4 separate regions of the Homo sapiens genome follow, and regions 2, 3 and 4 are each linked to region 1. Evidence: promoter capture Hi-C in human tissues and cell types (Jung and others, 2019). All regions are on one chromosome and are shown on one strand. The core of a region is centred on a gene start or on the middle of the fragment in contact, and the rest is flanking DNA. Distances in the headings are between cores, read along the strand shown.

The links. Contacts are between HindIII fragments. The study calls those that stand out against the background at their distance.
Region 2: a contact is called between a fragment that was not itself captured here and the fragment with the promoter of WWC1 in region 1, in 1 of the 25 tissues and cell types used here (stomach).
Region 3: a contact is called between a fragment that was not itself captured here and the fragment with the promoter of WWC1 in region 1, in 2 of the 25 tissues and cell types used here (H1 embryonic stem cells and bladder).
Region 4: a fragment that was not itself captured here is called in contact with the fragment with the promoter of WWC1 in region 1 in 2 of the 25 tissues and cell types used here (IMR-90 fibroblasts and stomach).

Annotation. Positions count from the first base shown.
Region 1 is chr5:168,288,298-168,294,306 of GRCh38, reverse strand. WWC1 (WW and C2 domain containing 1) reads right to left here and starts at 2,662. Exons shown (of 23, transcript NM_015238.3): 1 at 2,036-2,662. The coding sequence starts at 2,154. RefSeq lists silencers at 1,850-2,269, 2,370-2,889 and an enhancer at 4,034-4,113. The HindIII fragment of the contact is 18,450 bases long and covers 1-6,009 here.
Region 2 is chr5:168,475,425-168,481,433 of GRCh38, reverse strand. No RefSeq gene overlaps it. Among named protein-coding and RNA genes, the nearest start is that of RARS1, 8.0 kb to the left of the region's middle. The HindIII fragment of the contact is 6,213 bases long and covers 1-5,824 here.
Region 3 is chr5:168,448,340-168,454,348 of GRCh38, reverse strand. It overlaps WWC1 (WW and C2 domain containing 1), which reads right to left. Exons shown (of 23, transcript NM_015238.3): 18 at 249-381. Among named protein-coding and RNA genes, the nearest start is that of RARS1, 35 kb to the left of the region's middle. The HindIII fragment of the contact is 3,206 bases long and covers 790-3,995 here.
Region 4 is chr5:168,430,057-168,436,065 of GRCh38, reverse strand. WWC1 (WW and C2 domain containing 1) reads right to left here. Exons shown (of 23, transcript NM_015238.3): 14 at 5,843-5,929; 15 at 4,622-4,814. Among named protein-coding and RNA genes, the nearest start is that of RARS1, 53 kb to the left of the region's middle. The HindIII fragment of the contact is 9,210 bases long and covers 1-6,009 here.

The sequences.
Region 1 (6,009 bases), core at 1,413-3,912:
AAGCAATAGCACAGGTGGATATAGCAAAAAAAAATCATGGAGGTGGTCCATGTAACACTAAAATTTGGGAGATTGTGCTCCAGCCAATCAGTTCTTCATAGAAGCTACTTACTTACCCTTTTCCAAGGGTAAAGAATTACTGTTGAGAGGGGCCTCCTATTGCTGTATTAGAAGTCCCCAGATGCATGATTATCAGTGTTGGCAGGGGCGGTCCTTTCCCTCCAACAGGACGTCCACCTGCTAACAGCACACAGGCCTCCGTAAACTACAGGGACCTAAATTGGGGCAGGTCACATATGTTTGAACTTGTGTCTGTTCTGAGAAAAGGACAAGAGAAAAGGTGCTGCCAAGTTCACCAACACAGTAGCAGAGCTGGCAACTGACCCGAGTAAGGGTGGGGAAGCAGTGTGTCAGGGTGACAAGTTTGCAGGTTAGAACTTCAGAGCTGGTGAAGAACTGGTACGCAGAATGGCAGAAAAATCAAAATACTTGAGCAAATCACACCTCTGGGCTTCAAATTTTCTCTTATGTTTCAAATGGGAGTTGGGCGCTGATGTACGTCCCTTCCAAGTTTTAAGCATCCCAATATTCCCTTCCAAGCAAACTTTTTAAATTCAGGGAAATGGTGGGCTCCCCCATCTGACAAACAGGGAAACTGAGGCTCAGAGGTTGAAGCAGCTTGCCTAAGAGATGCTCTCTAGCACTAAATATTTACCTTCCAGATTACATTCATGAGACATTCAGCATGGTGCTGAGTGTAGAGGAGGCATCCAGGAAGCGCTGAATGAACGAATGAATGAATGAATGAAAGTAAGTGCTCCCAGAAACTACCGAGAATCTCAACTCTCATTTTCTTTCCGCTTATATTCTTTTTTTGACCCACATCTTGCTACATACACTTCTGGGACACCTCCACCCCCACCACACAAGATGAAGAGTCCAAGAAATTCACCTTGGTTGCTTTACAGGGACCTGACCCCCAAGGTCACAGACAAGGTTTAAAGTCCGCATTCCCCAAGACACTCTGCCCACAGACCGTGTCAACAACATCGTGGTCCGGGGACTCTAGGACATACATGGAGAGGGTGAATGTATGTGTGTGTGTGCAGCATGTGAGCAAAGAAATGCCAAACAACCAGGAGAAAGTCTGGAGAGGTAAGAGCCACACCGAGCTATCTCAGGCTCCATCTGCCTCTGCACATTATCTCAACCTACAGCGGCCTGGTACCCACCAAGGTCAGGTCCCGCTGGTGCAGGGCTGAGGAGCCTCGCCGCCCCCTTCCCCGATCAGGGAAGAAAGAGAGGAGAAAGAGGCGAGGGGCAAGGCTTTCCGGGAGGCCTCTCACCTCCATCTCCATCCTAACAGCTTCCAAGTTGCTGCCAGATTCCTGGATAACCAGTCTCCCTCATCTGCCCTCCCCCGCTTCTTCACTTCCTCCCCACCCTCGGGTTCCAGGGCCCCCTGGCTGCCCCTGTGCTGTTCTCAGCAGCTTCCAAGGCACCTGTCAAAAAGCACACCTCAGGTTGCCTTCCTCTGCGCCGAGTGCCCTCTCTCCAGTGGTCTCCCACGGAATCCTGGGGTCTTGACCACCCCCTCTAACCGGACACTTCCCCATCCCCATCCGCCCACCCCCCACGCTGGGTGGAAGCCTCCCCGGGAAGACCCGGCTTCACCCGGCTAGGTCGCTCCCCCAACCCCCGCCCCCGCCCGACCTCTCTTCCTAAAGGGGGCGGGCGGGGCTAGAGCTTAAGGTCAAAACTCCGGGCAGGTGCCGGCTGGGGCCTAAGTCCTCCAACTGGGGATGGCGGTGGGGCAGCCTGGGCCAGCTCCCCGGCAGGCGCCTCCTCTCGGTGGCCCACTGAGGCGGGAGCAGCGCTCCAGAAGGTTGGGGGGAGCAGGGGGTGGCGAACTGAAGAGAGCTCAAGAGGCACGCAGAGCTCCCCTGCCCCCTCCCAGTCCCGGCCGGCGGCTCCAGGGGCAGGTGGGGGCCCAGGCGGGGGTGTGGGGGCACGGAGGAGGGTTCCAGGGTCCTACCTGTCCCGCGGGTCGATCCAGCTGGTGGTGCGGTTCGTGTGGTCTATGTAGTAGACCTTGCCGTCGAAGTCGCGCGCCTCCTCCCAGCCCTCCGGCAGGGGCAGCTCCGGCCGGGGCATCTTCCCAAGCGCTGCCGGCGCTCCCCCATGCAGCTCCCGGCCGCAGCGGGGGCTCAGCGGCTCCAGCCGGCCGCTCTTAGCCCGGGCGGCCGCCGAGGCACCATGATCCGGGGGGTGGCGCCCGCAGATGGGGGGCCCTAGTAGGGGCCGGCCGGGGTGGCGCCGCTGTCCATGCGGCCCTGCAGCCCCGACCCGGCGCCGCCCGCTCCTCCCGCCGCCGGCCTCTCACGCTGCCATGTGCGTCCGCAGCGGCGCGGTGCGAGCCCGGGTGCGCGCCCAGCCGGCCGGGCAGAGCGAGCCGAGCGCCGCCGCCGCCGCCGTCTGCCCTCCTCCGCCGCGCGGCGCGCTGCGCCCTCCACGCCGCCGCTGCCGCTGCCGCCTCCCTCCTCCCTGCAGCCGGGTGCCGTCCCTCCTCTCCGCTCCACCGCTCTGAGCTCGCCGGGTTTGTGACTTCTGCCTCCGCCAGGTGCGGCTCGGGCGGTGCAGGTAACCGCGCTGCCCCGGAAACGGGAGGCGGAGCGCCGGGCGCCTGGGTTCCCGGGTCCCCTCCCCGCGCGCAGCGCCTCGAGGGCGGGTCCTAGGGCCCGAGACGCGCCCCCTCGTGGGACAGTCCCAGCCGCCGGCCACCCTTACGCTGCCCCTGCCAGGGGAAGGAGAGACCGCCCCTCACCTGCGTCCCAGACCTAGGGGGCTGGGCCAAAAACCGCTCTGCCTGTACTTAAAACGCTCCTGTCTCTCTCCACCCGGAGTAGCCAGGCTCTCGGCACAGGTGGCCCCAAATCTTAAAAACTCCCTGCTTTTCTGTGGTGTAGAATCAGGAGTCAGGCAAGAAGTGGTTAAATGGAAACATTCTTGCGAATTGGGAAACATAAGTTTTCCAGGATCTCTGGTCCCTTCCCCCAACACAGGCACCATCTGTCTCCTTCTATTCAACTCTCCCTACGACGTTTCGCCCACCCTCCACCCTTCCCCACCATTTGGAAATGTAGCTGGCTCCCCTCAGGGTCCCTAAAATTAGGAGCGCTGTGGATCCGCTTTCCTGGGAGGACTTCCAGAGGGTGTCAGGGAAAACACTTTGTAAAAGTAATAGTAATGCCATTGTTATTGTTAGCTAAATTGAGGACTTACTTGTGACAGGCTGTGGCTAGCAGCTTCACAGGCTTTCTTTCCTGTGATACTTTGAGGTAGGTGTGTTATGGATTTGGGAGAAGTGGGGCTATGAAAAAGAAGAAAGTAAGCAAAGCAAAATTCCATCTTGAAAAATGTTCAAGAGAATAAAACAATCAGAGACACAATGTTTCTTGAGAAATTAAAAATGTAGAATTAGTGGGTGCGGTGGCTCACGCCTGTAATCCCAGCACTTTGGGAGGGTGAGGCAGACAGATTACCTGAGGTCAGGATTTCAGACCAGCCTGGCCAACATAGTGAACCCCATCTCTACTAAAAAATAATAATAATAAATTAGCTGGGCGTGGTGGTGCACGCCCGTAGTCCCAGCTACTCGGGAGGCTGAGGCATGAGAATCACTTCAACCTGGGAGGTGGAGGTTGCAGTGAGCCAAGATCGCACCACTGCACTCCAGCCTGGGCAACAAAGCGAGACTCTGTCTCAAATAAATAAATAAATAAATTTAAAATGTAGCATTAAATACAAAAAGCAAGCTAGCATGATTGAGTGAATGATCAACTGGCTGTTCACTTCCCCATCTCCTCTTACATCTGTGTACTGAGTGGGAATTTAACCCTTTTTTGCCCTCGGCATATGGCAGGAAGCTGGACTGGTCGAATGAAGCCCAGTTGGGTGTCTTCTCTTGCCTGAGCCCCACGGTCTTCCAGAAGAACCAGCACCCTGTGCTGTATGGACCAGGGTGTTGCTGAGCCAGAGAGGGAATCATGTTTGTGGTCTCATCTCCTCTTGACAGAAAAGACCCACCAGAGTGAGCCTCGCCTCCAAATGCCTTCTTCATAGTTAATTCCTTCCCTGAGGCCAGGCCTCGGGGCTCAGTGCTTGGCCCTCCTTCATTCCATAAATACCAGGCACCAGAGTCCAGGGACACCAGCCTCAGACTGGCCCTCAACACCCAAAAGTTGGAATTCCCCATTCCTTTATGGGGGAATTCCCACAGCCCTCTACACTTCCTCTGTTTGGGTCAAGCCTTTACTACATAAAAACCCACTATTGATTAGAGCAGTAGCCCCAAAGCAAAGCCAACCTGGTGCTAGGTTCTTTGAATACATGATCTCAATCTTCATAACAACCCTCTGGCATAGGAAAGTCTATTTATTATACCCATTTTACAGATGAGGCTCCAAGATGCTTTGTTGTTGGCCTGGGATACAGAGCTCATAAGACAGACTAGGTCTGACTCTAGTGCAGTGTTCTCAGTTATTAACCTATACTTTCTTTTTTTCTTTTTTTGAGATGGAGTCTCCCCCCATCCCCCAGGCTGGAGTGCAGTGGCATGATCTCGGCTCACTACAACCTCTGCCTCCCAGATTCAAGCAATTCTCCTGCCTCAGCTTCCAGAGTAGCTGGGATTACAGGCCTGCGCCACCACGCCCAGCTAATTTTTGTATTTTTCAGTAGAGCTGGAGTTTCACCATATTGGCCAGGCTGGTCTCGAACTCCTGACCTCAGGTGATCCGCCCACCTCAGCCTCCCAAAGTGCTGGGCTTACAGACATGAGCCACCTTGCCTGGCTGACTTTCTTTCTTTCTTTCTTTTTATTTTTGAGACGGAGTCTCGCTCTGTCACCCAGATTGGAGACTTTCTTTCTTTTTTAAATCACTCTGCAGCCTCAGAACTTCCCCATGGTTGGGATGTGGAACATGACTGATACTGACAAATGTTCATCTCTGTTGATGTTTGCTTCATAGTTTTTTGGTTGAGAAGCAAGAGCTCTAGAATCAGGCTGTTTGGGTCCCAAGCCCACCCGGTTTTCTAGCTGTGTGACCTTGGGCAGCTTGCTTCACTGAAGTCTCAGTCTTTGATTTGAAAAAAAATCACATAACAATATGGACTCCTTTGGGCTTGTGGTTAGGGCAAAGCAGGAGGAGAAATGTGAGGGCTTGGCACTCAGCAGCACGCCTTCATCTCAGGGGCTGTGGTGCGGTGCATTCGGAGCACCGTGCCTGGCAGCAGACACACCTCTATGAAATGTGGACCATTTGAAGTATTTTCTGTTCAAAACACAAATCCACGTCCTTTCCCCTTCTGAAAATTATGCCTGCTTGCTTGCAACAGTCCTCCTAATTGCTGATTTTTTTTTTTTTGGCCTTATTTTTCAACCAAGCCTTTTTACTGGTTGGCATTGATTGTGAAGAGAAAACACCTTTTAGACTGCCAAGTCCCACTTTCGTTTTAGTCCAGCCACCCAAACCCTGGCATTTTCCAAATGGCTTGCTTCTTTGGACCTTTTGACCTGGCCTGGGAAGCAAGAAAGAGAGACCAGAGCAGGAATTGACTCCTGAATTAAGGCCTAGGTCTGTTCGCTCTTTTTACCTCCCATCCACCCCCAACGAAAGAATCCCAGGTTATCTCGCAGAAGCGGCAAGCAGGGTGAGGTAATAAAACAGATGACTGCCTGCCCCATGTGATGGCGCGTGAATCATCCCGGACATTCTGCGAGGCTGAGGGCAAACGTGAAAGAGATTAAAGGTAAAACCGGCTCAGCCACATGATAGGCTGAATTGGACGTTACTCTACAGGTGACTGAACTGCAGGAATCCGAACTGAAGACAAGAAGCCCAGCCCTCTCCTGGCCACCCTCCTGGGGCTGCGTCTGGCTGCCCGCGTGTGGAGTTGAAGGAGACAGGCTTGGGCAGTGTTGGGCAGTGCAGAAGTGACCACAGGCCA
Region 2 (6,009 bases), core at 1,469-3,968, 190 kb before region 1:
AAGGTTCTATGCAGTGAGACTAGCAAATGCAAATGAGGCAGGAGCTAAGTTTAGAGTATGGTCGATGATGGACTGCTCATGTGATGATGGTACCATAAGATTATAATGAACCTGAAAAATTTCTATCACCTAGCGACAACCTTGATGAGTCTGACCCTGTGTAGGCCTAGGTTAATGTGTATGTTTGTGTCTTAGTTTTTAACAAAAGAGTTGTAAAAGTGGGAAAAAACCTCTAGAATAAGGCTATAAAAATGTTTTTGTACCTTTGTACGTTGTTTTGTTTTAAACAACTGTTATTATAAAAGAGGCAAAAAATTAAAAAATTAAAATGTTTATAAAGTAAAAATGTTACAGTAAGCTAAGGGTAATTTATTACTGACGAAAGAACATTTTTAATTTTTTATTTCTATTTTTGTAGAGATGGGAATCTCGCCATTTTCCCAGGTTGGTCTTGAACTCCTGGGCTTAAGGGATCTTCCTGCCTCTTCTGGGTTTACAGGCGTGAGCCAACATGGCTGGCCAAAATTTTTAAAGTAAATTTAGTGTAGCCTAAGTGTACAATGTTTAAAGTCTACAGTAATGGACAGTAATATCCTAGGCCTTCACATTCACTCACCACTCACCCACTGATTCACTCAGAGAAATTTCCAGTTTTGCAAGTTCCATTGATGGAAAGCCCCTATACAGGTGTTCTTTTTTTAATCCTTTTTTTTTTTTTTAATTATTGTTTTGAGATGGAGTCTCGCTCTGTCACCCAGGCTGGAGTGCAGTAGCGCCATCTTGGCTCACTCCAACCTCCACCTCCCTGGTTCAAGTGATTCTCCTGCCTCAGCCTCCTGAGTAGTTGGGATTACAGGCATGCACCACCATGCCCGGCTCATTTTTTGTAATTTTAGTAGAGACAGGGTTTCGCTATGTTGGCCAGACTGGTCTTGAACTCCTGACCTCAGGTGATCCACCCGCCTCAGCTTCCCAAAGTGCTGGGATTACAGGCGTGAGCCACTTCACCTGGCCCTATTTTTTATCTTTCATTCCCTAATTTTACTGTACCTTTTCTATGTTTAGAAACACAAATACGTCCATTGCATTACAGTTGGCATTACAGTATTCAGGACAGTAATGTGCCATACAGGTTTGGAGCCTAGGAGCAATAGGCTACACCATATAGCCTGTGTGTGGAGTAGGCTCTACCATCCAGGTTTGTGCAAGTACACTCTCTGATGCTCACACAACAAAATTGCCTAATAGCACATTTCTCAGAATCTGTCCCCATCGTTAAGTGATACATTACCGCATTTGAAAAAAAAAAGGCCGGGCGCGGTGGCTCACGCCTGTAATCCTAGTACTCTGGAAGGCCGAGGCGGGAGGATCACGAGGTCAGGAGATCGAGACCATCCTGGCTAACACGGTGAAACCTGTCTCTAGTAAAAATACAAAAAATTAGCCGGGCGTGGTGGTGGGTGCCTGTAGTCCCAGCTACTCAGGAAGCTGAGGCAGGAGAATGGCGTGAATCCGGGAGGTGGAGGTTGCTGTGAGCCGAGATCGTGCCACTGCACTCCAGCCTGGGTGACAGAGCAAGACTCTGTCTCAAAAAAAAAAAAAAAAAAGGAGGGGGGGATTGGGTACTGGCCCAGATGCAGAGATTGGCAAAAGTGAGAGCATATAAGAATTTGTAAGTTGTTGGGGCTCGGAAACCGATACCCCAAAATATGGTGCTTTGACATACTGAAGCGAAGAACACTCAAGGTTTCTCTGACCTTCTCCCTCACCCCATCTTTCCCAAAGAAGTTACAGTTTCTTTATCTGCCTGAGATCCAGACACACTAAGTAAGGCACATCAAGGACGACTCTTTTTTCTTCCCTTTCCTGTAAAACCAACAGTGTAGCCACACTTGAACAGACCTTTTCACAAGATAATGTACACGTTAATATCTGTTCCCTAATCCATCCATTCTCCCTAAAAATCCCCTCAACAGAACTCCTCTTCCCCCACTCCCATAATCTGTTTTGCCAGGATGACATATACACTTAGGCACCACCTTGCGGGGTGAGCAATTAATTACTCAGTGGTTGCACTGAGTAATACACAGCAAATTTGTAAATACCCTGTGTATATACCCTGTGAATATACAGCAAATAAACTTGTATGCCTTTTTACCCACTAATCTGCCTTTTGCAAGTTGATTTTCCAGTGAAACTTCAGGAGGCCAAGGGGAAAGCTTTCCCTTTCCCTTTACCCACGTAAAGTCAAGGCAGGGGTTTTTTATTTTATTCTATGCACAATGGGAACCATTAGAGGGTTTGGATGAGTAGATGGGTGGTGAATTTTTGTTGGGTGGTGTTGGCTGGGCACGGTGGCTCACGCCTGTAATCCCAGCACTTTGGGAGGCTGAGGCGAGCGGATCACGAGGTCAGGAGGTCGAGACCATCCTGGCTAACACGGTGAAACCCCGTCTCTACTAAAAATACAAAAAATTAGCCGGGCGTGATGGCGGGCGCCTGTAGTCCCAGCTACTTGGGAGGCTGAGGCAGGAGAATGGCGTGAACCCGGGAGGCGGAGCTTGCAGTGAGCTGAGATTGCTCCACTGCACTCCAGCCTGGGTGACAGAGCGAGACTGCGTCTTAAAAAAAAAAGAAGGGTGGTGTTATGGGCTGAAATGTATTCCCCCAAAGTTCTTAAAGTCCTAACGCCCAATATCTCAGAATGTGACTATTTGGAAATAGGGTCTTTAAAGAAGTAATAAGTTAAAATGAGGTCAAGAGGGCCAGGCAAAGTGGCTCATTCCTATAATCCCAGCACTTTGGGAGGCCAAAGTGGGCAGATCAACTGAGGTCAAGAGTTTGAGACCAGTCTGGTCAACATGGCAAAACCCCATCTCTACTAAAAATACAAAAATTAGCTGGGTGTGGTGGCATGCACCTGTAATCCCATCTACTCAGGAGGCTAAGGCAGGAGAATCACTTGAACCTGGGAGGCAGAGGTTGTGGCGAGCTGAGATCGCGCCACTGCACTCCAGCCTGGGTGATGGAGAGAGGCTCCATCTCAAAAAAAAAAAAAAAAAAAAAGAGGTCATGAGGATGGGCCCTAACTCAACATGACTGGTGTCCTCATAAGAGGAGATTAGGACGCAGATACAGACACACACAGAGGTAAGACCATGTGAACACACAGGGAGAAAGTGGCCAAGGAAAGAGTCCTCTGAAGACACTGACCCTACCTGCCAGGACCTTGATCTCAGAATTCCAAGAAGTTCAGGTCAGCAATGATAAATCAAAATGGTAGCAGAAAAAAAAATGGATAGATTTATGATATATTTTAGAGACAGAATTGGCAGAACTTGCTGGTGGATTAGGAGTCTAAAAATGAGGACATGGGTTAAGAGTGTCAAGTGGCTGGGCATGGTGGGTCACGCCTGTAATCCCAGCACTTTGGGAGGCAGAGGTGGGCAAATCATGAGGTCAGAAGTTCGAGACCAGCCTGGCCAACATGGTGAAATCCCATCTCTACCAAAAATACAAAAATTAGCCGGGAGTGGTGGCGGGTACCTGTAATCCCAGCTGCTCAGGAGGCTGAGGCAGGAGAATCACTTGAACCCAGAGGTGGAGGTTGCAGTGGGCTGAGATCGCACCACTGCACGCCAGCCTGGGCAACAGAGTGAGACTGTCTTAAAAAAAAAAAAAAAGAGTCAAGAGAAGAATGATGAGGTTCATAAATTTGGAGAGGACAGCTTTATTTCACATAAAGAGTTGCATGCTGCAGGTGGCCACTCTGACAGGCTGGAAAGTGTAGCCTCCAGCCAGTAGCTGAAAACATGCACTTTGAGGGAAGGGCAGAGGAAAAAAGAATGTGTGCTGAGCAGGTGGCCAAATATATATATTTAATAAGCTGTAGGAGGGGTCACTAATATCTATGAAAGGAGAAACGTGTGCCTGCGCAACTGAGCTTCATGCCCCTTCATGGGACCCCTGTACAAAACATGGTGTCCTTACCATGATCTGAGGGTGGAGCTTCTGGGCCTCTGATGTCAAAAGGCGAAGGGGAGGATATGAAAACCCTCCCTGCACATCCGTTGTAAACTGGCCAGAACCATTCAGTGGTGGGTGGCCTCTTATCAGGAAGGAATGCATGTTGGTTGTTGTGGTGAAATGGCAAAAGGGAGGGGGAGTTGGTGGAAATCAGCGGTGAAGCCAGGCTTTCCAAAGGTCTGGTTTCTGTTTAGATTTTAGGAAAGAATGCCTACTGGAAGCTAGGGAGGGCGGGGGTATAAGGAGGTGTGTCCCACCTCCAGATGCCGTCCCGGGCTCTCCTTGGCCAACAGGATAGGACATCCATTCAGTCCGTCATGGGGCTTAGGATTTTGGTTTTACTTCTCAAGAGAAAATGAACTGACTAGGAAGAAATGAAAAAAGCTATGGGGAGGGAAAGAATGACTGGAACCTTAAATTTTCCTTCTAGTGGTAAAGTTTTAATGACCCAGCTCTGATCACACACTACTTGTTTCCATAGGGAATAATGTTGATTTCCCCATCAATCTGTAAATGCTGTTTACTAGTTTTTAACTTTCTAAATCAACTCACAGCAGAGGAAGCTTTAGGATTACATGATTACAGAGCAGTGCGTAAATGTGATACCCTTTTTTAAACTATATAAAAATAATAATGTAACTAAGAAAAATTAGAAGTTGTGGCTGGGAAGGAGAAAGGGTAAGTATGTGCCATAATGTCCTCATCTTTATGGTGATGAGTGGAGAGGTCTTACTGAAGATGATGAATAAAAATAATACAGGCCATTTTTATTTTATTTTATTTATTTTTGAGACAGAGTCTCACTCTATCGCCCAGAGGTGGAGTGCAGTGGCACAATCTTGGTTCACTGCAACCTCCGCCTCCCAGGTTCAAGCAATTCTCCTGCCTCAGCTTCCCAAGTAGCTGGAACCACAGGCCCACACCACCCCGCCTGGCTAATTTTTGTATTTTTAGTAGAGAAGGGGTTTCACCATATTGGCCAGGCTGGTCTCAAACTCCTGACCTCAGGTGATCCACCTGCCTTGGCCTCCCAAAGTGCTAGGATCACAGGCATGAGCCACCGTGCCTGGCCTACTGAGCATTATTTTATTTTTAAATTTTATTTATTTATTTTTTTAGAGACAGAGTCTCGCTCTGTCACCCAGGCTGGAGTGCAGCGGCATGATCTCGGCTCACTGCAACCTCTGCCTCATGGGTTCAAGCAATTCTCCTGCCTCAGCCAAACGAGTAGCTGGGACTACAGGCGCATGCCGCCACACCCGGCTAATTTCTTCTGTATTTTAGTAGAGACAGGGGTTTCACTGTGTTGCCCAGGTTGGTCTTGAACTCCTGAGCTCAGGCAACCTGCCCGCCTCGACCTTCCAAAGTGCTAGGATTACGGGAGTGAGTCACTGCACCTGGCCCAGACCATTGTTAAAAAGTGGAAACCACCAGATAAACTACTGTGAGTGGTAGATTGCAGAGGGTGGGGGTGTCTTTTATTGTATATCTCATACCCTTCTACAGAATTGTGAGAATTTTTTTTTTTTACTGTATTGCCAAAGGATGAATTATAGCCAATTTAAAGATCTCAGTTGGCTTTATTGCAATTCTACAATTGGGCAATGCTTCGGTCCATGAAATAGAATCAGTGTTCCAAAGCGCTGAGCAGAATAGGCTGGCTTCATAGAGAAGGCCTGAAGGAAGCAGAAGCTAAGAACAGGATGTATTAGTCCTTTCAAAGTTACTTTTCTCATAAGATAGGGACATAATAGAATAATAGAAAAATAACTGCGTAGTTAACGACAGTTTCCTTCAGGCTACCTTTTTGCCTGTAAGGATTAAGGCAGAGGGAACTTCTTCATGACTGAAGGACTGAAGGCTTCAAAGGACCTGTCTGGGAAATTGGGTGTTCTCTCTCTCCCGATTTCCCTGAAGGTCAGGTAACTTAGTTTAGGTTTGGTGACATGAAACTTGAGCATGGGTGACTCCATTCTGATTTTT
Region 3 (6,009 bases), core at 1,143-3,642, 160 kb before region 1:
TGACTGCAAGGCTTGAGTTATGTCCAGAGAAGTCATGGAAAATGCAGAGGGCAGAAGAAAAGAGATGGGTGAGTTGGCCTCTCCTGGTTTACTATCACCAGAATGACCCAAAGGCCACTCCATTATGAGGGCTTGTGCCCTGATGCTGGAAGCCAAGACTTAGCTCTGAGTCTTTTCTGACTGCCTCGGCACAAGGATTGAAGGTTCCTTCCCCACGACAGCCCTTCTATCCCCCCAGCCCTTCCTACCTTTAATGCTGGGTACCCATCCATATCAGGTGAGGCTTTCTCGGTGAAAACATCCTCTTCTCCCTCCTCCTCCTCCACCTCCTCCTCCTCTTCCTCGGCTACTGCCTCATTCTCACTGGTCTCCTCATACCTCCTGTGATGACAAAGCACTTTGGTTACCCACCCAGAAGCCGCTCTGCCTCTGTTCACCTGCCTTTAATACACCCAAGGTAGGGCTTCCAATCCTTTTGATGATTGAAGATATATTTTAAAAAGTTTTGGGGGGCCAGGCTCACACCTGTAATCCCAGCACTTTGGGAGGCCGAGGCAGGCAGACTGCCTGAGTTCAGGAGTTCAAGACAAGCCTGGCCAACATGGTGAAACCCCATCTCTACTAAAAATACAAAAATTAGCCAGGCATGGTGGTGCACACCTGTAGTCCCAGCTACTCGGGAGGCTGAGGCAGGAGAATTGCTTGAACCCGGGAGGTGGAGGTTGCAGTGAACCGAGGTCACGCCACTGCACTCCAGCCTGGGCAACAAGAGTGAAACTCTGTCTCAAAACAAAAAAAAAGATTGTTAATGAGGCATTTTCAGTGTATAGTTTGATGAGTTTTGGCCAATGTACTCACCTATGTAACCACCACTGTACTTGAGATGTAGAACATTCCATTCCCCACCAGAATTCTCTCCTACCTTTTCCCAGTTTAATCACCCACTAGGCAGCCATGATTAGCTGTTATTATAGATTAGATTTGACTTTTCTAGAGTTTCATGCAAATGGAATCAGACAATATATGCTGTTTTGTCTCTGACTTCTCTGTGTCTGCATAACATTTCTGAAGTTTATCCACAATGCTGTATGCATCAGCGGTTCATTCCTTTTTTTTTTTCCTTTTGAATCAGAGTCTCACTCTGTCACCCAGGCTGGAGTGCAGTGGGACCATCTTGGCTCACTGTAGCCTCCACCAGTGGGCTCAAGTGATCCTCCTGCCTCAGCCTCCTGAGTTGTTGGGACTACAGGTGTGTGCCACCACACCTGGCTAATTATCCTATTTTTTGTAGAGACAGAGTTTTGGTATGTTGCCCAGGCTGGTCTCAAACTACTGGGCTCAAGCGATCCACCCACCTTGGCCTCCCAAAGTGTTGGGATTATAGGCGTGAGCCACCGCGCCCAGACAGTTCACTCCTTTTTATCATTAATATTCCATTGGATGGCTATATTGCAACATGTTTAGATCTGTTCACCTGCCTTTAAATGCACCCAGGGTAGGGCTTCCAAACGTTGGAACGAGGCGGGTGGTTGAGGAAAAGGAGGAGGAAGATGAGGAAGAAGAGGAGGAGGAGGAGGAGGAGGAAGAGGGAGAGAAGGAGAGTTTAGTTGATGAACATTTGGATTACTTACATTTCCAAGCAAGTATGAATAAAGCTTCTTGTACATTCATGTACAAGTCTATGCATGAATATAGGTTTTCATTTCTGTTGGATATTGCTAGGGTTGCAAAACTAAAACACCACTTACTAGGTGGGTTAAACAACAGAAACTGATTTCTGGCAGTCCTGGAGGCTGGAAATCCATGCTCAAGGTGTCAGCAGGTTTGATTCACCTGAGGCCCCTTTCCCTGGCTAGCAGATGGCTGCCTTCTTGCAGCGTGCTCACACAGTCTGTCCTCTGTGCATGCGCATCCCTGGTGTCTGTGTGTCCAAATATCCTCGTATGAGGTCCCAGCCCAACTTCAATGGTCTCGTGTTAACCACCTCTTTAAAAGCCCTACCTCCAAATACAGTCACATTCTGAGGTACTAGGGGTTAGGGCTTCAATGTTTGAATTTTGGGGGGACACAAATCAGCCCCTAACAGATAATAGAATTACTGGGTCATACGGTAAGTATAAATTTACCCTTTTAAACACCAACAGGCCAGGCGTGGTAGCTCACGCCTGTAATCCCAGCACTTTGGGTGGCCAAGGTGGGCGGATCACCCCAGGTCAGGAGTTCAAGACCATCTTGGCCAATGTGGTAAAACCTTGTCTCTACTAAAAATACAAAAATTAGCCAGGCGTGGTGGTGGGCACCTGTAATCCCAGCTACTCAGGAGGCTGAGGCAGGACAATTGCTTGAACCCAAGAGGTGGAGCTTGCAGTGAGTCGAGAGAGTGCCACTGCACTACAGCCTGGGTGACAGACTGAGACTCCACCTCAAAAAAAAAAAAAAAAAAAAGACACCAACAAATGGCTTCTCCAAAGTGATTTTGCCATTTTAAGTTTCCCCTGAGCAATGTTCTAAGAGTTCTAGTTCCTCACTACACTTGGTGTTGTTTATCTTTATAGTTAGTCACTCTACTACTGGGTGTGTACTTGCATCTTGTTGGGTTTTAATTTGCATTTTCTTCTTTTTTCTTTCTTTGTTTTTAGAGACAGCATCTTGCTCTGTCGCCAAGGCTAAGGCTGGAGTGCCATGGTGTGATCATAGCTCACTGTCGCCTTGAACTCTTGGGCTCAGGTGATTGATTCTCCTGCCTCAGCCTCCCAAGTAGCTAGTACTACAGGCACGTGCCACCATGCCCGGCTAATTTAGTAAATCTTTTGCAGAGATGGGGTTTTGTTTCCCAGGCTGATCTTGAACTCCTGGCCTCAAGAAATCTTCCTGCCTCAGCTTCCCAAAGTGTGAACATTACTGGTGTAAGCCACTGAGCCTGGCCTAACTTGCATTTTCTTGTTGAGAAACTCTTCATGCATTTATGACCATCTTCCCAGGTGAAGTGTCTGTTACAATCTCCAGCCCCTTAAAAATCAGGTTTTTGGCCAGGCACAGTGACTCACGCCTATAATCCCAACAGTTTGGGAGGCCGAGGTGGGTGGATCACCTGAGGTCAGGAGTTCGAGACCAGCCTGACCAATATGATAAAACCGAGTTGCCTCTACTAAAAATACAAAAATTAGCCAGGTGTGGTGGCATGCACCTGTAATTCTAGCTACTCGGGAGGCTGAGACAGGAGAATCGCTTGAATCCGGGAGGTGGAGATTGCAGTGAGCCGAGATTGCAGTGAGCCGAGATCGCAGCCTGGGCAACAAGAGCAAAACTCTGTCTCAAAATAAATAAATAAATAAAATAAAAATAAAAATTGGGTTGTCTTATTATTGAGTTGTAAGAAATCTTAGTATATTTGCGCTATGAATCCTTTGTCTGGTATGTGGACTGCACGATTTTCTCTAAGTCTGTGGCTTGCCTTTTCATTTTCTCAGTGGTGTCTTCCGAAGATCATAAGTTTTTGATTATGATAAAGCCCAAGTTATTGATTTTTTTCTTTTATAGTTTGTACTTTTTATGTCCTAAGAAATCTTTGCCTACCTCAAAGTTGTGAATAGTTTCTTTCTTACACTTTCAGAACTTCTATAATTTCAGGTTTTATGTGTAGCTCTATAACCCATTTGAGATTAATTTTATTTTATTTTTTTGAGATGGAGTCTCGCTCTGTTGCCCAGGCTGGAGTGCAGTGGTGCGACCTCAGCTCACTGCAACCTCTGCCTCCCGGGTTCAAGCAATTCTCCCGCCTCAGCCTCCCGAGTAGCTGGGATTACAGGCACGTGCCGCCATGCCAAGCTGATTTTTGTATTTTTAATAGAGATGGTGTTTCACCATGTTGGCCAGGATGGTCTTGATCTCCTGACCTCATGATCCACCCACCTCGGCCTCCCAAAGTGCTGAAATTACAGGCGTGAGTCACCGTGCCCAGCCACAGATTAATTTTTATACATGATGTAAGTGTTCAAGTTTTTTTTTTCCATATGAATATCTAATTGTTCCAACACCATTTGCTGAAGGGACTTTTGGTGATAGTCCTTAAAACTTTCCATTTCCCTTGGACTCCAAGGTTGGAAGGATTTGGTGTGACAAATAGGCTGCATTTGTTAAGTAGTAATTTATCTCTATTCCCATCTTGACTTCTGAAAGACATACAGAACTGCCCGGCTTCTGATCAGCATGAGACAGTGTTATCATACTGAGCCAAAAGAATCCTAGCCAAAAGCAGAGAATCTGACATCCAGCTAGCTAGCTCGGCGAGAGTGTGGGGAAACATAAAATCTCCCTGAGGATTTTCCCAATGGGGAGAATGCATTTTGGATCTCTACTCGCAACTCTGCAATTAAAACCTCTTCTGTACTTAGATGAGGACTGCGGCTGTGGAGGGGCCTTGGCTCTCCTCCTTGGCCCCAGCAGCCTCTCTATCTACAAATAAAAGAGCTGTTGGCGGGTGCGGTGGCTCATGCCTGTAATCCCAGCACTTTGGGAGGCTGAGGCAGGTGGATCACCTGAGGTCGGGAGTTCGAGATCAGCCTGACCAACATGGAGAAAAACCCCATCTCTACTAAAAATACAAACGTAGCCAGGCGTGGTGGCACATGCCTGTAATCCCAGCCACTTGGCAGACTGAGACAGGAGAATCACTTGAACCCATGAGGTGGAGGTCACAGTGAGCCGAGATCGCACCATTGCACTCTAGCCTGGGCAACAAGAGTGAAACTGTCTCAAAAAAAAAAAAAAAAAAAAAAGAGCTGTTAAACATGTGAACACACAGGGAGACAGGGAGCCCCTCCACAAAGCCCTCTGTAGAAGCCACATTGACCAGTATTTATTGAGGGCTCAATAAGCTCCAGGTGCTACACCTCACAACAGTGCTCAAAGAGATGATCTCCATTTCCCAGATTCAAAAAGTGAGCGGCAGAGGCCTGAGGCCTTGTTCAATGTGGCAGGCTAGTTGTGGAGCCAGGATTGCAAAACAGGTTTGTCTAGATCCACTAAGTGCTCAACCATTACGGGAGTCTCTTCTTTTTGACTGTGAATCTGATCTCAATATTCCAAGATGAGAAAAAAAAACCACAAACCCAACTTAATTTTAATTGTAAAGAGAAAAATAATTAAAATCAACAATATCTTTTCACCTACTGGAGTGGCAAAGCGGAAAAAAATCTGGTAATATCAAGTGCTGGTGAAGGTACAGAAACAGGCATATCCCTGTGGGAAGTGAAAAGGAGAGCAGCCAATTTACATTCTGAAGGCCATTTAGCCTTATCTGTTAAAATAAAAAAATGTACATATGCTTAATTAAGTTACAGCAGTTTGATTAGATTGAGTGTCAGAGAGGCTGTAGGTTAGGGTACTCTTAATCATTGCTGGTGGGAGCATTTATTAATAAAATCTTATAGCTGGGTGCGGTGGCTCATGCCTGTAATCCCAGCACTTTGGGAGGTGGAGGTGGGCAGATCACGAGGTCAGGAGATCGAGACCATCCTGGCTAACACGGTGAAACCCCATCTCTACTAAAAAACACAAAAAATTAGCTGGGCATGGCGGCAGGTGCCTGTAGTCCCAGCTACCCAGGAGGATGAGGCATGAGAATGGCGTGAACCCAGGTGGCGGAGCTTGCAGTGAGCTGAGATCGTGCCACTGCACTCCAGCCTGGGTGACAGAACAAGACTCCGTCTCAAAAAAAAAAAAAAAAAAAATCTTATTTGAGAACTATTCTATGATGTCTATTAAAATATAAAAAACACACACCCTGCGATCCAGCAATGCCACTTCTCAGCATCTGCCCCAGACAAATACGAGTTCCCAAGGAGGCAAATACAAAGATTTTTCCCCATAGTATTGTTTGGTGTTATATTCTCCTGTATTTTCTAACACTCTTAGTTTTATTTTGCTTGTGGATCTTTTAAAAAAAAATCCAGTTTTCTGATTATATCATTTAAAGACATATAAAAACAAAATAAAAAGAGGGAGTAC
Region 4 (6,009 bases), core at 2,577-5,076, 140 kb before region 1:
TTTGAGACCAGCGTGGCCAACATGGGGAAACCCCATCTCTAATAAAAATACAAAAATTAGCCAGGTGTGGTGGCGCGTGCCTATAGTCCCAGCTACTTGGGAGGCTGAGGCAGGAGAATGGTTTGGACCCGGGAAGCGGAGGTTGCAGTGAGCCAAGATCACGCCATTGCCCTTCAGTCTGGGCAACAGACTCTGTCTCAAAAATAAAAAAAAAGAAAAAAGAAAGATGAGGGCCAAAGTCCACATGGATTGGGTTACAGAGAGGAAGGGAACACCTCTTTCAAGTTTTTCTATAAAGAAAGGGAAAGAAACAATGTAGTAGTTGGAAGTGGAAATGGGGTGAAAAAAGTTTTAGGTCGGGTGTGGTGGCTCACGCCTGTAAACCCCAGCCCTTTGAGAGGCTGAGGCGGGAGGACTGCCTGAGCCCAGGAGTTCAAGACCAGCCTGGGCAACATAGTGAGACCCCATCTCTACAAAAAATACAAAAATTAGCCGGCCATGGTGGCATGTGCCTGTAGTCCCAGCTATGGGAGAGGCTGAAGTGGGAGGATCACTTGAGCCCAGAAGGTCAAGGCTGCTGTGAGCTGAGTTCACAGCACTGCACTCCAGCCTGGGCAACAAAGCAAGATCCTCTGTCAAAAAAAATTTTTTTGTTTTGTTTTGAGCATGGGAGAAATAACAGCATGATGATATACTGATAGGCTGGATCCAGTGGAGGAGGGAAAATTGAAGATAGAGGAAAGAGCGGAATGGCTGCTGGAGTAATGTCCTTGCGAGAAAATGGGGGTGGTGGCCTCAGACAGGAGTGCAGAAGGCCCACCCTCAGAAGCCAGGGAAATGGCAGAACCTACAAGAACAGCCAGATATGGTGTGGGGGCCCTCTTCTGAGTCTGTCCTCTCTTCTCTCCCTGAGAGAAGTATGAATTAGTCATTGTGATGAGTGGGTGAGTAAATGGTCCAGGGAGATACAGTATAATTTCTGGGCAGCATTGAGGGCTCATGGGAAGTGAGTGATCACCATTTCCAAATGATACCATACAGCGTGGTTGTGTGCATTTTTTTTTCCAGTTGCTCAGTTGGAGAGGAGGGGGTGGAGAGTTCACTTTGACAGGGCTGGGTTTTGCCAAGTTAGTATGCCAAAGTGAGAGGAGGCAAGGGAACGGTTGTAATGGTGAACCATGGGACGTCAGTGGGGCCTGAGAAGCAGGCTAGCTCGAGAGAGCCCGGGCTGGGTGGCATTGAGCTCAGCAGTAGAGCAGTGGGCAACTAGGCTCCCTGTGATGCCATGCAGGGCATTTGGTGGAACTGTTGCCTGCGATATTGGGAAGGTGGGCTGTGTATTCCTCCAAACCTGTAATCTGGGTCTGGGGACATGAGAGACACTCATAGTAACCCCCTGAGAAGTAGCATGGTGAGATGGCTACACATAAGGAAGCTGGAGTCTCTGTTCAAATCCAGGCTTTGCCATTTTCTCCTTGGATGACCTGGCAGCTTACTTAGCCTTTCTGGGCCTTGATCCCTTATCTTCCTGGGGCCATCACGAAGATTAAATGAGATACTGCACATGAAGTTCTTAGCCCACTGGTAGACACATAGACTCAACTCAGTACAGATGCTGTTGCTGCCTGGCTGAAAACAGACTGGGGATTCCACACATCCTGCTGTCCGGAGTCTCTGCGTGGGAGAGGACAGGCCTTTTTCCTCCCATCTCACTTCCTCTCCTCCTCCAGCCACCAGAATACGACAGCCTGACACTCCATGTCCCCACCGTATATGGGAAAGGAGGTTTCCCATTGGCCGCAGGCAGAGACAAGCCACAGTGAGATGAGCGCTTTGGCTGCTGCCATGGCAACCAGCAATGACCAGACTTCAATTAGGAAGGAGGAATAAAAGGCATCCAATTAGGAGAAGAAAATAGGATTGAGCCTCTTCTCGCTTAGGAATGCCCAGGGCCAAGGGAATGCTTCGCTGGAGGAGCCCAGGCTTGCCAACCCCTTCAAGTCACCACCCCCATCTCTGGGCTCCAGGGAGCCCTGTGCTGGCAAAGAGACAACACAGAGGCGCTGACGTGTGTGGACTTCAGAGGGAGACCTGCTGGGGTTCAAATACGGCTTCTGCCACTTTCCTAACTGTGACAGGAAAGGTCTTTCACCTCTTTGTGCCTCAGTTTCTCCACTGGAATACGCTACCTATTTTGCAAGGTTGGAGTGAGGATCAATAGAGATAATGGGCTGGGGTGGTGGCTCACACCTGTAATCCCAGAACTTTGGGAGGTGGAGACAGGCGGATCACTTGAGGTCAGGAGTTCAAGATCAGCCTGGCCAACATGGCAAAACCCCGCCTCTACTAAAAATACAAAAATTAGCCGGGTGTGGTGGTGGGCGCTTGTAGTCCCAGCTACTCTGGAGTCTAAGGCAGGAGAATTGCTTGAATCTAGGAGGTGAAGGTTTCAGTGAGCCAAGATCACGCCACTGCACTCCAGAGACTGAGAGCAGGACTCAGTCTAAAATAAAAAAAACAGATAATGCATGTAAAGAGCTTAACTCAGTGCCTGCCATATAAACTGCAACCTACTGGTATTAACTACTGCATTATTGTCAGTAACAACATCAATAGCAGTGATGCTGTGTTGTACCCAGCTAAGAAGGAGAGATGGGAACCGATATCCAGTGAGCACAAACTGCAAACACTTTGCTGCTCTACATTCTTGCTACCCAAAGTGTGATCCAGGAACCAGCAGCATTGGCCTCACCTGGGAGCTTATTAGAAATGCAGAATCTCAGGTTCTGCTCCAGACTTGCTGAATCAGAATCTGCATTTAGCCAGAGCTCCAGGTAACTTGTGTGCATGGCACAGTTTGAAGCGCTGCTTCAGCGCCTTAGTTAGTCTTCAGAGAACCACCTCCAGGAAGGCAGTATGAGCCAGATTTTACAGATAAGGGAACTGAGACTAAGAATTGAAGACTGTGAGGAGACACAGCTGGAAGGGCAAGGCTGGTGACAGCCCCAGGCCACAATCCAAGGATGTGGCCCCACAATGCCATGATAGAGAAGGGTTTTATAGCGCATGCAGATCAAGGCAAGGATGGAGAGCAAAGAGATTCCCTTCTCTGGGCAAAGGTCTGTGATTTACAGCAGGAGAAAGGGGCGAGCCCTCCAAGAAGGCAGTGAGAGGCTCTACATTCCAGCTTCCAGAAATGGAGGCAGGAGAGGCTCGGAGAGGTGTATACATCTTGTTTTTCCCCTTTGCACATACCCCACATTTTCCTCCATCACTTCAACCCATCCATTTCCAACACGGCCCTCCTCACAGTTTGTTTACATCTTAGCCATCAATGCTGGCACCTTGTCTGTTTGGTTCCCCATTGAATCCCCAGCCCCAGACACAGGGGTGGGGACACAACAAGCTCCCAGTACAGATCTGAGCATGAGTGGAGCGACCTTCTAGGTATAATGCCCACACTTGGGCTCCTTTGTGCCCACAGTTGAGTTATCATTAAAATATTCTAACACTAAATGGCATCAGGGTTAACAAAGCCCTTTACTTCTTCTAATTCACTTGTACATCACAAGCCCGAGTTAGCTATTATATAAATCCCCCTTCTACAGATGGGAAAGCTGAGTATCTGTCTGCACTTGGGTCTGCCTGTCTCTTAGGACAAAATGTACTTGGGCTACTTCATCCCCAGTCCTGACTCCTGCCAATGCAGTGAGAGATGGAAGCCGGAGAAGGTCAGTTTCAGGGAGGAGGCTGGCAATGGCCCCACTAAACGAGAACCCACTGTGGATCAGACACTTGAATAGGTGTTTTACGGGTGCTATCTCAATCCTTATAAAGATTCTTCCAGTGGGCATGATGGAGGCATTATCATTTGCATTTTAGGGATAAGAAAAATGAGGATCAGAGATGTTAAGTACCTTGCCCAAGGTCATCCAGCTATACAGCAAGTGGTAAAGGTGGGATGTGAATGCCTATGTGTTTGCTTTCATTACTCTGTGCTTTTTTTTTTTTTTTTTTTGACACAGGGTTCTGCTGTTGCCCAGGCCAGAATGCTGCGGCATGATCAGCTCATTGCAGCTCAAGGGATCCTCCCATCTCAACCTCCAGAGTAGCTAGGACTACAAGCATGCACCACTATGCCTGGCTAATTTTATTTTTTGTAGAGATGGGGTCTTGCTGTGTTGCCCAGGCTGCTTTCGAACTCCTGCACTTGAGTGATCCTCTGGCCTTGGCCTCCCAAAGGGTTGGGATTACAGATATAAGCCACCACACAGCCATAGTCTGTGCTTCTTATCTAATCTCTCATGCTGTATAGTAAAGCTGCAGTATGTGGCTTTTTCCAGGTTCTGGCAGTTTTAAAAGGCACTTTCAGGTCCATTACTCTTCCTCTTGTGAAAGAGCTCCTTCCCTCCCACCCTAAGTCTGAGAACAACATTCACCTGTGGAAGCCTCGCTGCCTAGAATCCAAGATGAGCCTGATTGATAGCACAACCTGCGTCTCCTTCGAACCTTCTTCCTGAAGCTCAGGGTAGACCAATCCCCATAAACACAGAAGGCCGGTCAGCCAGCCAGCCAGCCAGCCAGCCAGCCAGCCAGCCAGCCAGCCAGACACGGCCCTTACCAGGCACTCTTCCAGATGGCTCCTGTCGGTGGTACAGACATCGACTCTTAAGGTCTTCTGGTGAAGGGCTGGATAGGACATGGATACCCAGAACACCTCATTGAACACTAGAGTGTCTGAGGCGTCCAGAGGCCGGGTCCGGAACAGGCAGGTTGTGCTTTCAGAGCAAGGAAGGACAGCCACGCGGATATTCCTAGAGGGAGACAGAACCGCAGGAAATCTTGGGTCAGCCCATGTCTGGGGCTAAAATGTTGGACTAAACAGCTGCTGAAATCCCTAAGCAAACAACAGTGGATGAGAGTTTGTAGAAGTGAGGAATCTGGGGAATCAGGCCCCTATACACTGGAAGGAACTTTGACAAATCGAACAAAATTCCAGATGCATTTGTCCTTTGGTCCAGACCCTTCACTTCTAGGCATTATCCCACAGATGCCCCTGCATGAGTACCAGTGAGCTATGGAGGAGGCTATTCAGCCTGGCACTGTCTGTGTGGGCAGAAGACTGAAATTGACCCAAGCATCCCATCTTGTCTTCCTTCCGTTTTGTCCGCCTTCCTGCCCTTTCTTCTTCCCACATGTGCCACCCTCACAGGCTGGCTGAGTGTAGACCACAGACACATAAGCTTCTGTTGCCACCCTCCAGGCCTTACGATCAGAGAAAACTTGGAGGCAGATGAGTGCAATAAAGGATAAACCCATCTACCATGGGAGGAGCCCACAGGCAGACAGAGCAGGTGTTTGCATCCTACCAGCATCAAGGTAACACGCAGTCACACCCCTCCAAGAGAAGCAGTGACTGGTGTTGACTCTTGGAAACAGAAGACCTATCTCTCTCTGCAAGAAACACTTGAGCTTAGGAGAAGATAAAACAGACTGTGACCATTCTTCTCCATGAGGCTCAAAGTCCAGGAGGGTAGGGCCCAGGAAGGATCTGCTCACCACCCCATTCCTAGAGCTGGCATGCAGCAGGTGCTCAGCACGTAATGGGGCAGGAATTCACACAGTCATCTAGAGAGTGCTTGTCTTTACAGTTGGTGTGCTTGCCGTTGTGCCTGTATTCACATGCACAGCACCGACATTCAGCATCACAGTCATATGCAGTACAAACCCACAGTGCCTTGACAAGGCCCATAACTGGATCAGGACAGGGCAGAAAAGTGACCCCCAGGGGTAACTCCAGAGGGTTAGGGTATGAAATACACCTGTCCAGCTACATACTCACACTTTCTGGTCTTGTTGCTGCAACAGAGCAGAAAGGTTACTCAGCTGGATGATTAATATTGCAAATTGCTTATTCTTCTCATCATACCTGAAATGAAAAGGGGCATATGAAGTACCTATTAGTAACACACTCATCTCTCTCATTCCTTCTCTCCATTAAAAGTCACA